2 separate regions of the Homo sapiens genome follow, and region 2 is linked to region 1. The links are contacts of gene promoters, found by promoter capture Hi-C in human tissues and cell types (Jung and others, 2019). All regions are on one chromosome and are shown on one strand. Each heading gives the region's core, a stretch centred on a gene start or on the middle of the fragment in contact. The rest is flanking DNA. Distances are from core to core; before and after follow the strand shown. Region 1 holds the start of MEOX1 (mesenchyme homeobox 1). Region 2 overlaps LINC00910 (long intergenic non-protein coding RNA 910).

Region 1 (7,889 bases), core at 3,599-6,098:
TGCGGACGGAAGAAGTTTATCCCCATTTTACAGATGAGGAAACTGAGGCTCAAGTGATAAGGCAAGTCGCTCAAAGCCATTTAGCTTATTAATAACAGAGCTGAGGTCAGGCACAGTGGCTCATGCCCGTAATCCCAGCACTTTGGGAGGCCAGGGCGGGCAGATCACCTGAGGTGGGGAGTTGGAAACCAGTCTGGCCAACATGGCAAGACCCCATCTCTACTAAAAATACAAAAATTAGCTAGGTATGGTGCCAGACACCTGTAATCCCAGCTACTCGGGAGGCTGAGGCAGGAGAATCGCTTGAACCTGGGAGGCAGAGGTTGCGGTGAGCCGAGATCCCACCACTGCACTCCAGCCTGGGCAACAGAGCAAGACTCCGTCTCAAAACAAAAAACAAAAAAACAGAGCTGAGGTTTGAACCCACAGGCCCCCAATTCCCAAGGCCATGATTTGGACCCTTGTGTTATGTTGCCATAGAAGGTATCTGGGGGCTGGGATGAGCCGTCTTCACCTACATTGTGCTGTGTCCTGCCCAGTGGTTCAGCATAGTTAAGGACAAGCTATTCCTCACATGCATCACCCTTTATAGTCAGCCAGCTCTGTTCTCAGATGCAGTTCATTTATCCTCCTAACCGCCAGGTGAGGCCGGAACTGTCAACTCCATTTTGCCAGTGAGAAAAATGAAGCTCAGAGAAGGGTGTGATTTGCCTGAGACCACACAGCCGGTAACAGGCAAGGTCACACCTTGAACCCGTGTCTTCTGCCTCCAGGTCCAGGGCCTTGCCCTGACACCCTGCCTCTCCAAGCACAAGGGGGTGGGGTGGCCACAAACAGAAGCAGCCCTGTCCTGCCAAGTACACGCCTGCCTGCCACGCACAATGGGAGACATTCCGCAAGTTCCACGTGATGGCTCAGGTGTGGCCAGGCTGAAAGCCCTCCTGGGCCCCCCCACGCCCCTGGGGGACCTCCTCGTGACTCACACTTTTCCTCTTCCTCCCCTTATTCTCCCCAACAATCAGAAACCGGGGTCCCCTCCCTTCCTGAAAACAGAGCTCTCCTCATGAGGCCACAGGGCTTTTTCGACACACAGCTCCTTCCATCCATCTCTGTCTCTGGCCCTGTGGGGCCTTGACAGGGAAACGCTGACTTTGAGGAGGTTAAAGGTGCTGGTGCCCGGCCTTCATCTAACAAATGGGTTGCCGTGAGGGGAGGAACTGTTGTTGTTTTTTCCTGGCCTCAGAAGAGGGGCCTGTCAGGAAGATGTAGGGGCCAGCAGCCCCCGGCCGCGCCCCGCAAGGTGGCTGACAGACGCCAGCAGCTGCCGGGGGCTCCGGGGTGCCAGAGGCCTGTGTTCTCAGGGCAAAGCACCCCACCGCGCCCCCTCCCCATGGCCCTCCTGACCTCCCCACCCACCCCACCATGACCCAGGGCCCACCCCGTCCAGGGGCAAAGGGCCAGGCGCTGGGCCTCCCTGCCATGAGGTCCCTGGGCCAGATGCAGAGGTGGAGCAGGAATCCGGTTACAGCCTGCGGCCAGCCCAGGGGAAGGTTTTCCTAGGGAAGCTGACAAGCCAGATCTTCCTCCCAGCCTCCCACGGATTCCTTCCAGAACCCCCACAGCACAGCGTGCCCCCCACAAAGGACCTCACAAGGCTGTTTCTGTAGAATTTCCTCAGAACTCCCCATTCCCAGGTTCACCCTTTGGGATCATCGAGGTTAACCAGAAATAGATGTGCTAGGAAGGGAGCCACATTTGTCCATTACTTACTCTGCCTTTTGCATAAAGGATTTCTTTCTTTATTTCTTTTTCTTTTTCTTTTTTTTTTTTTTTGAGACAGTGTCTCACTCTGTCGCCCAGGCCGGAGTGCAGTTGTACAATCTTGGCTTACCGCAACCTCTCTGCTTCCCAGGCTCAAGCGATTCTCCTGCCCTCAGCCTCCCGAGTAGCTGGGATTACAGGCATGTGCCACCACACCCAGCTAATTTTTGTATTTCTTTTTTTTTTTTTTTTTGAGATGGAGTCTCGCTCTGTCACCCAGGCTGGAGTGCAGTGACGTGATCTCGGTGCACTGCAAGCTCTGCTTCCCGGGTTCACACCATTCTCCTGCTTCAGCCTCCCAAGTAGCTGGGACTACAGGCGCCCGCCACCACGCCCGCCTTTTTTTTTTTTTTTTTGTATTTCTAGTAGAGACGGGGTTTCACTGTGTTAGCCAGGATGGTCTCGATCTCCTGACCGCATGATCCACCCGCCTCGGCCTCCCAAAGTGGTGGGATTACAGGCGTGAGCCACCGCGCCCGGCCTAATTTTTGTATTTCTATTAGAGACGGGGTTTTACCATGTTGGCCGGGCTGGTCTTGAACTCCTGGCCTCAAATGATCTGCCTGCCTCAGCCTTCCAAAGTGCTGGGATTATAGGTCTGAGCCACCGTGCCTGGCCTACATAAAGGATTTCATTGAAGATTTGCAAATGTCTGTGGGCTGGGCTGCCTCAATTTGAATCCTGGGTCCGCCGCTTCCCTGCTGTGTGGCCTTGTGCAGGTTACACAGTCTATCTGTGCATCAGAGTCTTCTGCTGAAAAACGGAGCTGATAAAAAAAAAAGAGAGAGAGAGAAACGGAGCTGATGAGAATGACTGTTGCCTCAGAAGGCTTTTGTGGGAATCCGTGGGGGTAAAAATGTGTAAGGTGCAAAGTGCCTTACACAGATCCCACTCTGACTGTCATCTCAGATGAGGAAACAGAAGTTCAGAGAGATGGCCAGGCATGGTGGCTCATGCCTGTAATCCCAGCACTTTGGGAGGCCGAGGCGGGCGGATCACGAGGTCAGGAGATTGAGACCATCCTGGCTAACACGGTGAAACCCCGTCTCTACTAAAAAATACAAAAAATTAGCCGGGCGTGGTGGCGGGTGCTTGTAGTCCCAGCTACTCGGGAGGCTGAGGCAAGAGAATGGCGTGAGCCCGGGAGGCGGAGCTTGCAGTGAGCTGAGATCATGCCACTGCACTCCAGCCTGGGCGACAGAACGAGACTCCATCTCAAAAAGAAAAAAAAAAAAAAGAAGTTCAGAGAGATAAGGTGACTTGTTCCAGGGCACACAGCCAGGAAGTGGCAGACCTGGGGCTTGAACTCAGACCCGTCTAACCTCAAACCCCATGCCTCCTCCTCTGCATCTGGCCTGCTCCAAACTGAACAGCAGGACACCTGAGGCCAAGTGCTGATTCCACCATTTCTTAGCTGTGTGAGTCTGGGCAGCCCAGTCATCCATCTGAGCCTCGGTTTTGTCATCTGCAAAATGGAGACATAATTCTTACTTACCCATCCTAGGAAAGTTGTGAGGCTCAGAGAATTGTGTGTGCCACAGCTAAGCCCTGGGCAAAGCAGAAAGATGAGTCTGGTTGACAGCTATGACCCCATCCACTCTACTGGTCTACAACACTCTGACCGCTTGTTCCAGAAGAGGGCACATCTTTTCATATGTACACCCCTCCCCATCTTTTACAGCTGCTCCTGCTCCCAGGATGTGTATCTGACTGGAGTTTCTGGATTAAAGGCCAGTCGTGGCTTCATTCCACATCCCTGGGTGCCCTTCGGCTCCTCCTAGGAGCATCTCCTGCACCCACCCCCCAGGGCCCCACCTCCAGGCTGCAGAGCTAAGACCTAGGGGCCCCTCCTCAGGGAACCCTCGCCGTCTTTGGAAGCAGCCAGCAGAGACGCTGCTGTTAAGGTCCATGCCTGTTTCTGCCCCCATCCTGCTGCTCTGGGCCATGGGAATAACCAGTGGGGAAGGAGTTCTGGCCCCTGGGTGTTAGGAATGTCGTCCTCCAAGAAATTGCATTAACCCTCTGAGAGACCAGCAGGGCGCAGCCATGAGGAAGACTGGGCATCAAGATGGCACTTGGGCTGGCTGCCCTGTGATGTGCACCAGCCCGGAGACCCACGTGCCTGCTTGCCAAAGAGGCTCCTTTGGGGAATGAGGAGCCCCTGATTCCTATTTCCCTACCCCAAATTCCTCGGAAGCCTCCGCCTCTGGGGGATGAGAAAGGGAAGCAGGTGGGTGGAGGTGAAGGGGGCAGGGAGCAGGTGGGAGGAGACCCGAAGAAACTTCAAGGACCTTATTTAAGAGCCTTGCCATTGCTGTGAAGAAAAATGACTTGAAACCTCTCTAGAGAAGAGTGTGGCTAATTGGCATGTATGTTGGAGGTTAAAGAGCGGAAGGAAGAATCTGATTGTTTTTTTAAGTTACTGAGAAAGTGAGAATGTCACTCTGGGCAGAGAGAAATTCTTTTTTTCTAGAGTGTGCCTTTCTTTGTACTGCAGACCACAGTGGGCCGCTGAGACTTGCAAAAAAGATTTCTTTTAATCCACCTTCCTTTTTCGCAGGCAGCAGTAGAAGGGCCTTTAAATCAAATGCAATCACCAAGCTTGTCTCTTGCTCTTATTCCTCACTTCACTCCCTGGAATTTGGCATTTGATGGATTCTGGATCTGACTTAAGGCTTTTTCTAAATCCAAGACTTGGGGAATTTTGTTAACAGTGCAATAAAAATAACTTCATAGTGTTACAGGAGGCACATTAAAGACGGTGTGTGTGTATGTGTGTGTGTGCTGCTCTCTTTCCTTAAAAAAAAAATACAGACAATGTTTCTTTAAAAGTCTCCATCTGCAAATCCCATTAGATGTGCATATAAGGTTTCTGATGATTAATAGTTGCCTGCTAGGGTTTTGGTTGGAGGGGATCTTGTGTGTGTGGGTTAACCCCTCCCTCTCCTCTCTCACATTTCACTTCAGAAATTTGTCACTCTCTCCCCACCGCAGGATTTAAAAGTGTGTCCCAGCAGCCCTGGTCCAGCCCTCTGCAGGCATTTGCTCTGGGCTCCAGGACGAACTCCTCGTCAGCTGGTGCGTCTGGGTTGGGACAGTGAAAATGTTTAGTGTCATTGGCGACAAATACACATACAGGGGATCCCAGTAGGTAGGCTGGTGCATTGGAGGGGCAGGAGCAAGCCCGACATAGGTGTGTGCACACACATAGGAGTAGCTGGCCACATGTGTGTGTACTTTAAGGAGAGACTTTAGTTTTGGGTTTTTTTTTTTTTTTGGTTCCTGGGGTAAATTTTCTGTTGAACATTTTTCCCTCCTATTTAGTTTTTTTTCTTTTGCATTTTTAAAAATTTGAACATAAAAAGTATAAAGAATCAAATCTTTGAAAGGACCGAGGCGTGCAGCGGACAGCAGATGGATCCCGCGGCCAGCAGCTGCATGAGGAGCCTCCAGCCCCCAGCCCCTGTCTGGGGCTGCCTTCGAAACCCCCACTCGGAAGGCAATGGGGCCTCAGGGCTACCCCACTACCCGCCCACCCCGTTCTCCTTCCACCAGAAACCAGACTTCCTGGCGACAGCGACGGCAGCGTACCCTGACTTCTCAGCCTCCTGCCTGGCAGCCACCCCACACAGCCTGCCCCAGGAGGAGCACATCTTCACTGAGCAGCACCCCGCTTTCCCACAGTCCCCCAACTGGCACTTCCCTGTCTCAGACGCCCGGCGCAGGCCCAACTCAGGCCCGGCAGGGGGTTCCAAGGAAATGGGGACCAGCAGCCTGGGCCTGGTGGACACCACAGGAGGCCCAGGCGATGACTACGGGGTGCTTGGGAGCACTGCCAATGAGACAGAGAAGAAATCATCCAGGCGGAGAAAGGAGAGTTCAGGTAGGTGGCTCAGGAGCAGCTGATCATTCCTTTACTGTGTGACCCTGGGGAAGTTACTCACCCTCTCTGTGCCTAGGTGCTCTGAGCATGAATTTCTGTCTAGTCCATCCAAATGCAGGAGACTGGACCAGTTACCTTTGGGGTTTCTTCCACTGAGAGTTCTAGGATTCTCTGGTGATGGGGACCATGTCTGTGTCCCAGCACTCCTGGGCCCCAGAAAGGGTGTCCAGCAAGAGAATGAAACAGGATCAGCCAGGATTTGGAGGACACGTGAAATGGATCCTCTGGGTGCAGACTGGCGAGGGCTGGTGAGGGGCTTTCCTGAATCAGGCTGCCATTGAGTCATCCTCCTCCCCACCATGCTTTGGCCAGCCCCAAGTGGTCCTAGAGCCACAGGGCTCGCTTACCAGGGAAGTTCAGCTGAGGTTAAGGCTCTGAGAGCTAAGACTGAAGCTGGGACCCTGGGTGGCCACCCAAAGCCAAGACCCTATGTGTCCAGGAGCCTAGAGGCAGAGAAGCAGGCCTGCGGCTGGGATGGGAGAATCAAGGGGTGAGGGGGAGATGGAGGGCTGAGGTTTGGGGCAGACTGCCCACCAGATATCACCCTGCGGAGCTGGGCCATGTCCAGGCCAAGGGGACAGACAACTCAGCATGCTGAGATCTGGCTGACCCCCCAGGAAGGCAGCCCCGCAAGGAGCTGCAAGGGATGGGCAGCCTCTGAGAGAGTCAGGGAGGCAGGCAGCCAAGGGAGTCCGTGCTGGAGTCCCAGAGGCTGGAGGATGAGATTGGCCTATTTGTTAAGATTCCAGCTAAAGCCCTTCTCTTCCCCAGGGTGGGGACCTGCTGCTTCCTCACCTCCCCACCAGGCCCTCCCTGGTTGCTCACTATACCTGTCCACCTTTTGTCTGGTTCCTTGTCCCGGCCTCGTTCAGAACAAAGCAGTGACCAAGCCTCCTGCCCGTGCTGCCCTGTTTTCCTCCTGACAGCCGCCCTCAGGGGCACGCCTGTCTGTCGGAGCCTGTAGAGGACCTTCCCATGGGGCTAACCAGGGCAGGACAGAAAAGAAGGACACCAACCAACAGGTGGGAATGCTTTGTGCTTTGCTTTATAAGCACAGCTTTCCCGAGTTTCTGCTCTTAGCCAAGCCCAGGAATGCTCTGAGATGAATAAAGGGGTCTCACCCAAGAAAGCTCAAACTGAGAGGAAGAAGAGGCCTGCAGAGGTGTGTCAGCAGTGGGATGTGCCCTGATGGGGAGGCTTAAGGTGCCATGGGATACTGACGTCAGCTCTTTTGAGTCCCACGGGTTTGGGAGATGGGGACAGCAGGTTTTATTAGTACCTTGATTCTCTCAATCTGCAAAATGAAAGACTGAAAGTTGGTGAGAACACAGAAAGAATGGGGTCAAACTAGAGTGAGCAGCTCATCTCCATTTGCCCAGGACTTTTCCAGTTTTAGCACTGAAAATCCTGTCGTAGGAAACCCCACAGTCCCAGGCAAACAGAAGAATTGGTCACCCTAGAAGTGAGCTCAAACCCCAGGCTTCAGGCCCCCGGTATCACCCCCTTCAGTAGATTTCAAATGCAGTCCTCATTTTGAAATGATGTTTGGTCTGTCTGCTTGAAGAAGCCCCTTCTTCAATGGGAGATAGGAACTCTAGCAGCCCTCATGGCTGCTAAATAGAAGGGCCCTTTAAACCGCCAGCCAGTTAGATCCCCATCCCGAAAATTAACTCATCCTGCCCCTGGTAGGAAATGTGCTAAGGATGAGAAGCAACTCTCAGCGACTTGGCTCTGAACCTGGTTGAAGAGCTTTCCCCTTGGTGGCGGCACGCAGCACTGTGGCTCCTTCCTCTCTGCCACTTTCCAGAGAACTGACAGCCAAGGGCATTGGGAAGGGATAGCAAAGCCAAGAGCCTGCTGGGCTCAGGCAGAATCTTCCAGCATTCCGAGTCTCAGCAAAACCCAAATGCACCAGCTCTCTTTTTGGCGAGTGGCCGATGGCCCTGCAATGCAGAGAGACCATTCACACTAAGCAGCTGGCCACCCAGGAGTACAGGGACACCCTCGGCTGAACGGCCTGCATGCTTCAGGGTCAGACTTTGGTGGAGGGAGGTTCCCATCCGCAGGGGCCCTGGGCTTCCCTAAGGGTCCCCTCAGGAGCACCAGCAGCAGATGAGGCAGGGCC
Region 2 (7,889 bases), core at 1,998-4,497, 280 kb after region 1:
AATGGGGAAAGGATCTGAGCAGTCAGCTCATAGAAAAGAAAATAGAAGATCTTAAGCATGCAAAAAGGTACACCCCCTTACTGGTGTAAGAGATTCCACCACTTTTTTTTCTTTTTCTTTTTCTTTTTTGAGACAGAGTCTGGCTGTCACCCAGGCTGGAATGCAATGGCATGATCCCAGCTCACTGTAACCTCTGCCTACTGGACTCAAGTTATCCTCCCACCTCAGCCTCACAAGTAGCTGGGATGACAAGCCTGAACCACCATGCCCAGCTAGTTTTTGTATTTTTTGTAGAGACAGGGTTTTGCCAATGTTGCCCAGGCTGATCTCGAACTTCTGTGCTCAAGTGATCTGCCTGTCTCAGCCTCCCATGTGAGCCATGGCGCCAGGCTGGAGGGCAATGGCAAGATCTCGGCTCACCACAACCTCTGCCCCCCAGGTGTTAGAAACAAGTGTTCAGTGCTGCAAAGAAAAACCACCACTTAAACAAAGAATTTCTCAGCAAGGCACATTTACTTCTGCAGAAGGGTACAGCTTGCGTCTGACTGATCCCAAGAGCACATCAAGCCGGGTAGAGCAGGGGTTTTTATCCCTAACACAGTTTCTGTTTCTGTGTCCTTTCCCCATTTGCTGGAGTTGGACAGCACAGTCTAAGCTGACCCAATTGACTAGTGCTTGAAATTGAATAAGGCCAATTAGGCAGGAAGGGAGAGGCTGTCCATTACCAACTAGGCGGGAAGGGTTGTTTACCAAGTAAGAGGTTTGCTAGTTACCCATTAAACAGAGAAACAAGTGCTCCTTCCTGATTAAGCAGGAAGGGCTGCGTATAGAGCAAGAAAGACCAAGGAAACTTTGAAGAGGAACTTACTGTTTCTGGCAATTTTCCCCCTCCTGACTTTATAGTTCTTCCTCTTCAAATTCCTCTAATATATTTTGGCTTTGTTGCTCCTCTTGGTTTCTAGAAGTAGGAGTTTATCTGAGTAGGGTGGGGGAGAATGGAGAGGGGTTTGGTAAGAGCTGTTTCTATAAGCCTTTGCACAAATCCACAAATGCAAGGTATGACACAACCTACAAGAATGAGTACACTGGTAATAATTGCAAGGGAGGTAAAGATTGAGGTCATGAGTCCCTTCCATTTCCAAACCATTTTTCCATGAGACCAGAGAAGGGGTGTTCAAGCGATTCTCCTGCCTCAGCCTCCCTAGTAGCTGGGATTATAGGCATGCGCCACCACACCTGGCTAATTTTGTATTTTTAGTAGAGACGGGGTTTCTCCATGTTGGTGTCAGGCTGGTCTCGAACTCCCGATCTCAGGTGATCCACCTGCCTCGGCCTCCCAAAGTGCTGGGATTACAGGCATGAGTCATCTGCCCAACTTGCTAAAAGATCTAATCCCAGCTACTCGGGGGGCTGAGGCAGGAGACTACCCCGAACCTTGGAGGTGGAGGTTGCAGTGCGCCAAGATTGTGCCATTGCACTCCAGCACTCTAGCCTTGGCAACAGAGCGAGTCTCCGTTTAAAAAAAATAATAATAATAATTAAAAAAAAATTTTTTTTTTTGGTAGAAACTGGGTCTTGCTCTGTTGCCTAAGCTGCTTAACCTCCATCTCAAGGTTTCCTTCTGTAGGTAACCTTTGCGAGTTTGTAATGACGAGAGCACTTAGCACACAGCCTAGGCCAAACAGTAAATGCTTCCTATTGTATTGTCCGCAGGCAACGCAGTTGCTCAGGTGCTTCGGTATCACAGCCAAGACCCCTTCGGGGGAAGCTAGTCGGATACTGGGACCCACATTCCAGACTACTGAGCCGCGGTCGCGCCCTCGGCTCCGTTTCTGCTCCCTCCACCCCACGAGGTAGGCAGTGGTGTTTCCACTTCCCAGCTGGGGAAACTGAGAGTCCGAAGGTTAAGTAGTTTGTCCCCAGTCCCCACTGACAGGGCAGGGAGAGGGGCGGGGCTGTGACTCCCAGGGCGGCAGCCCCCTCAGGGCGCGATCTCGCAGTCGCAGTCGGACTTCTCTCTGCGGCCCCGGGAAGTCCCCCCCCAGTGGGGGAGAGGGGGCTCATGGGCTCCGCTTTCGCCTCCGACCCAGCCAGACCGCTGAAGCTCCGCTCTTCACAGTAATGGCTTTCCTCAAAAGAGCTCGGACCACTCTCCTCCAACTTCCTTCCGCAGACACCTCGTGACGCCCACGCCCATTTCGCTTGGTCACTGTCTTGACCCCGGGTGGGTCCATCAGCTCATTGTAAATTAATTTTTGTATTTTTAGTAGAGACAGTGTTTCACCATGTTGGCCAGGCTGGCCTAGAACTCCTGTCCTCAGGTGATCCGCCCTCCTTGGCTTCCCAAAGTGGACAAGGACAGCAGCTCTTTTTGAAAGGAGATACAGGCCGGGTGCGGTGGCTCACGCCTGTAATCCCAGCACCTTGGGAGGCTGAAGCAGGTGGATCACCTGAGGTCAGGAGTTTGAGACCAGCCTGACCAAAATGGAGAAACCCTGTCTCTACTAAAAATACAAAATTAGCCAGGCGTGGTGGCACATGCCTGTAATCCCAGCTACTCAGGAGGCTGAGGCAGGAGAATCGCTTGAACTCAGGAGGCAGAGGTTGCGGTGAGCTGAGATCGCGCCATTGCACTCCAGCCTGGGCAACGAGAGTGAAACTCTGTCTCAAAAAAATAAAATAAAATAAAATAAAACAGAAAGAAAGAAAGGAGATACAGTATGCCCCATGAGATGCTGAAAGGGACTCACCTCTTTTGAAATTAACCTAAGCATTTAAAGCCGTGGCTCTGTTTGAAATGGAATGATTAGGAGAAAATGCATTCTTGAAGAAATAGACAGCAGTGCCGGCCAAATAAATGCTGTATGTGGAATGGACTGGGAGAAGGCCATGTCCATCTTGATGTGAGGACTTTTAATGCCTTGATCGTACTTGCCTGTATTATTCTATGTTGTCAACGTGTCCTCTAATACCAGGTCCTCCATGATAAGTTGCTCCCGATCCAGAAGTATTGCCCCAGCTGCAAAGAGCCCTGATTCTCAAATGTGGTCGTGATCATGGTTACTGATTGGTCCATAACAAGAAAGTTAAAAAAAAAAAAAAAAAAAAAAAGACATTGTCAGACTCTTTATTCTATTTGCTGAAGTGGCCTTCTTTTTATAGGACGGGGGTGGAAGGCCACCTTCGATGGGTGCATCCTCCACGATGACCTGCTAACAAAGGTGCATGGATTTCAGAGTCTGATTGGCCTACAACAGCATTTGGCTTGTGGAGACAGTGGTTCCCTGATGAAAAACTGCCATGATGTAAGGAAGAGCCTGTCAGAGCGAGGCTGGGGTGCTGCGTGTTGGGGAGGTGGAGGTGTGGCTTCCCGGGAGAAGCTCCACCCGCTGGCTGAGTCTGGCACATAAACCAGTCTGTGAGGGGATGGATGTGGGTGTAATGGGGGCAATTACAGTAGGAAGGAGCCCACGTGGAGCCTGCATTCTCTGGGACAGGGCATTACTGCATTCTCTGGGACAGGCTAAGGCCCAGATCCTACCTTCCCAGGTGGCTGGATGGGTCATAGATGTATGAACCGGTCCCCTCATTTTCTGATTGCCCTGTGCTTAACGTTTCTGTACCTTTACTGAGGCTCTTTCCTCCAACTCCAGTGCCCAGACCCCCCTTCTCCTGAACATGAATGCCTGTCCATGGAAATTCGAGTCTCTCTCTCTCACCCAGGCTGGAGTGCAGTGATGCAATCTCAACTCACTGCAACCTCTGCCTCCCAGGTTCAAGTGATTCTTGTGCCTCAGCCTCTGGAGTATCTAGGATCACAGGTGCGTGCCACCATGTCTGGCTAATGTTTTGTATTTATAGTAGAGATGGGTTTCGACATATTGGCCAGGCTGGTCTTGATCTCCTGGCCTCAAAGTGATCTACCCACCTGGGCCTCCCAAATTGCTGGGATTACAGTTGTGAGCCACCACACCCAGCCTGTCCCTGAAATTCTAATGAAATGTGCGATAAAGTTGTTTTGTTTTTCTTTTTGTTTTCCCTTCTTGGCAAAGCCTGGTGTTTCTATTTTAGTGGATTTGCCTGGCACTGAGGACTGCTATGGTGGTCTTCAGAGGCTCCTGGTATTGACTGCTTGTGAAACCGCTTTTGCAAAATTATGACTGAGACAGTGAAAGAGATCTAACTTAACCGACCCAATCTTGCTTCTAACCTCCAAATTGTCCTTATTCATTCCTGAGCATAGCCTGAACTAACTTTGGGAGAAGCTTAGTTTATATTTTATTTTATAGTTTAAAACAAAGATGTTAACAGCCCTTTCCCAAGGCAGACTTCCTTCTTGCCTGGGGACTAGGTTGCCTTTGGAGGACTAACATTAGCCACGAGATTAGAAATTATGGGCTGGGCCTCGTGGCTCACCCCTGTAATCCCAGCACTTTGGGAGGCCACGGCAGGTAGATCACCTGAGGTCAGGAGTTCAAGACCAGCCTGGCCAACGTGGTGAAACCCCATCTCTACTAAAGAATACAAAAATTAGCCGGTTATGGTGGCACATGCCTATACTGCCAGCTACTTGGGAAGCTGAGGTGGGAGGATCGCTTGAACCTGGGAGGCGGCGTGGAGGTTGCAGTGAGCCAGGATCTTGCCACTGCACTCCAGCTTGGGCGACAGAGTGAGACTCTGTCTCAAAAAAAAAAAGTTTAGAAATTATGCTTTAGGAGTCATGCAGCTGGAGGCTACAAGATTCTGACCCTCCCTAAACTGCTCCTAAGATCAGTGCTTGAGATATTTTGCAGACCCTGCACTTGATGGATCAGCTGGCACCACCCAGACTGATTAACTGGCTCATGTGATCTTGTGGTCCCCACCCAGGAACTTAATCAGCACAAGGAGACAGCTTCAACTCCCTATGATTTCATCCCTGACCAATCAGCACTCCTGGGCTCACTGGCTTCCCCCTACCCACCAAGTTGTCCTTAAAAAGTCTGCTCCCCAAATGCTCGGGTAGACTGATTTGGGTAATAATAAAACTCCGGTCTCCCACACAGCCAGCCCTGCGTGAATTACTCTTTCTTTTTTGAGATGGAGTTTCACTTTCGTTGCCCAGGCTGGAGTGCAATGGCAGGATCTTGGCTCACAGCATCCTCCGCCTCTCAGGTTCAAGCGATTCTCCTGCCTCAGCCTCCCCAATAGCTGGGATTATAGGCACGTGCCACCACGCCCGGCTAATTTTTGGTATTTTTAGTACAGACAGGGTTTCACTGTGTTGGCCAGGTTGGTCTCAAACTCCTGACCTTAGGTGATTCACCTGCCTTGGCCTCCCAAAGTGCTGGGATTACAGGTGTGAGCCACTGCACCCAGCCAAATTACTCTTTCTCTATTGCAATTCCCCTGTTCTGATGAATCAGCTCTGTTTAGGCAGCAGGCAAGGAGAACCCCCTGGGCATTATACTTGGACAGAGGTGACATCCCCCAGGTAGTGAGTGCAAAGAACTAATGCTGCAGCTGTCTTCCATGTATCTGCCACTCACTGTAGAATGACCCTGAAGTTCTGCATTTCTGCTCTGTGTGGGTCAGGCACAAGAAGCTTCATCTCTTATCCCGTGTCTGATTCCTGAAACCTTGCTCATTTTCCTGCTGTCCTCCCTATTCCCAGCCTCCTTTCTTCTTTCGCTTTATCCTCCACTAAGGACATTGATTGCTTTCCTTTCTCTGTTGGTTCTCCCCACCCCTCATTCCATTGTGCCTTGTACCCATACTGCCCACTACCTCCCTTTATTGCTGTCATCTGTCCTGGTGGCCAGTCACACTCATGCCAACACTTACTTATTCCTTGAAGGTTTTAGCTCCTGGCTCACTTTCCAACATAACTCCTGTCATCAGTTGACACCCAGTTCCCCAGTTCCTTGACCTAGGCCTTACGTACCCCAGCCACTCACTTCCCTGGTCTAAGTCTAGATCTTGTCATTGCTGATGCCATAACGCCATCCACCATCCACTTCCAGGGTCACACTCTCCAATCACCTTCTACCACCCCTCCCTCTGTTACTCTGTGGTACATGTTACTCCACTTCCCCACTGCCCATCCCCTTTCATGTTTCTTTCCTCTTTAATTCTTACACCTCTTTTTTTTTTTTTTTTTTTTTGAGAGAGTCTCAATCTGTCACCCAGGCTGCAGTGCAGTGGCACAATCCTCTCACTGCAACCTCCGCCTCTCAGATTCAAGCGATTCTCCTGCCTCAGCCTCCTGAGTAGCTGGGATTATAGGCATGCACCACCATGCCCGGCTAATTTTTGTATTTTTAGTAGAGACACAGTTTCACTATGTTGGCCAGGCTGGTCTCAAACTCCTGACCTCATGATCCGCCCGCCTCGGCCTCCCAAAGTGCTGGGATTAAGGCATAAGCCACCGTGCCTGGCCTCTTGAAGACTCTTAAGTCATTTTTGGGAATCAATGAATTAACTACAGAAGATTTCCCAGGATGATGAAATAGCAAATCATTTCAAGATGCAGAAGAAGTAAGACCGCTAAGATCCCACAATATGTCTTGGATTTTTGGAAAGAGAAAAGCAGAACCAGAAGTGGGTCTGGGATTCACAGCCAGGCCATACCCCATGTCCTGGCTAATAGGATCGACTGCTGCTACTTTAGCCAATTACGGCTTTGGCCTTCCTCTACTCTTCCCTCCTTCTTGGTGAAATTTGTTAAGATCCTCAATCATAGAATTACCCCCACTTCCTGAGAGCATCCCAGAGAAAGGACTCCTCAAACCACCTAACACATGCCCAAATCCTGTAATAAACCATCCCTGACACCCTCTTACTTATTTGCCCCACAGTTCCCCGTGGCATGCAAAACGTTCTCCCTCAAAGCTAACTCATGTCATGACAGGTGTGTTCCTGGTGGCCTTTGGCTGGATGGTGCTGACAGGTTATAAGAGGGCCTACCAATAGATCTATATGGTCATTGCAAGACATAATGAGTTTTATTCTGTTTAAAAAGGGAAGAAAACGGTAGAGCATGGTGGCTCACGCATGTAATCCCAGCACTTTGAGAGGTAGAGGTGGGCAGATCACTTGATGTCAGGCGTTTGAGGCCAGTCTGGCCAACATGGTGAAATCCTGTCTCTACTGGAAATGTTGCAGGATTCAGGAGGACGAGAGAGACCTCAGGTTGAAACTAGAATCTTTATTGAGTGCACTCAGGCCCAGCTGACTCAACGTCCAAAAGACTGGGCCCGGAACAAAGACAGCATCTGACTTTTATACATACTTCACAGAAGGTGGTGGGCTAGCTTGAAGCAAGCTTACAGTGGTGTGAAAAGCAGCAATACAGAGGCAGGACAAAGACAGGATTGCACATGACTGTTGCCAAGTAACCCAGATGTCCGTTATCTAGGTTTGTCTGGGCATGGGCTTATCCTATAACCTTCACTATGGTGCCCAGGCAGCTGTAGTTCAGGCCTACTCAGGCTTCTCATGACCTTCGTTGTACTTCTTAGATAAAACAGAATATTTGAAGTCACTGGTTACATGTAGGCGGAAACCTACCCAGGTGCTGAGGCAAGAGACTGAGGGCACAACCTGTTCCAATATAGTAAAGAAAATAGTTAGAATAAGAAAAGTTATATTAGAAGTAGGAAATAGAGCTGGATGCAGTGGCTCCCAGCACTTTGGGAGGCCAAGGTGGGCGGATCACGAGGTCAGGAGATTGAGACCATCCTGGCTAACAGGGTGAAACCCTGTCTCTACTAAAAATACAAAAACAAAAAATTAGCTAGGCATGGTGGCAGGCGCCTGTAGTCCCAGCTACTCAGGAGGCTGAGGCGAGAGAATGGTATGAATCCAGGAGGTGGAGCTTGCAGTGAGCTGAGATCACGCCACTGCACTCC

The links. Contacts are between HindIII fragments. The study calls those that stand out against the background at their distance.
Region 2: a fragment that was not itself captured here is called in contact with the fragment with the promoter of MEOX1 in region 1 in 3 of the 25 tissues and cell types used here (IMR-90 fibroblasts, liver and neural progenitor cells).

The regions. Positions count from the first base shown.
Region 1 is chr17:43,658,881-43,666,769 of GRCh38, reverse strand. MEOX1 (mesenchyme homeobox 1) reads left to right here and starts at 4,848. Exons shown (of 3, transcript NM_004527.4): 1 at 4,848-5,704. The coding sequence starts at 5,236. It overlaps LINC02594 (long intergenic non-protein coding RNA 2594), which reads right to left and starts at 1,906. Exons shown (of 4, transcript NR_184089.1): 1 at 1,771-1,906. RefSeq lists enhancers at 599-1,124, 5,554-6,095. The HindIII fragment of the contact is 25,285 bases long and covers 331-7,889 here.
Region 2 is chr17:43,373,087-43,380,975 of GRCh38, reverse strand. It overlaps LINC00910 (long intergenic non-protein coding RNA 910), which reads left to right. Exons shown (of 6, transcript NR_027412.1): 3 at 1,714-1,853; 4 at 3,163-3,305. LOC105371785 (a long non-coding RNA gene) reads right to left here. Exons shown (of 2, transcript XR_007065761.1): 2 at 7,167-7,889. It overlaps LOC124904007 (a long non-coding RNA gene), which reads right to left and starts at 1,226. Exons shown (of 2, transcript XR_007065762.1): 1 at 869-1,226. The HindIII fragment of the contact is 6,395 bases long and covers 50-6,444 here.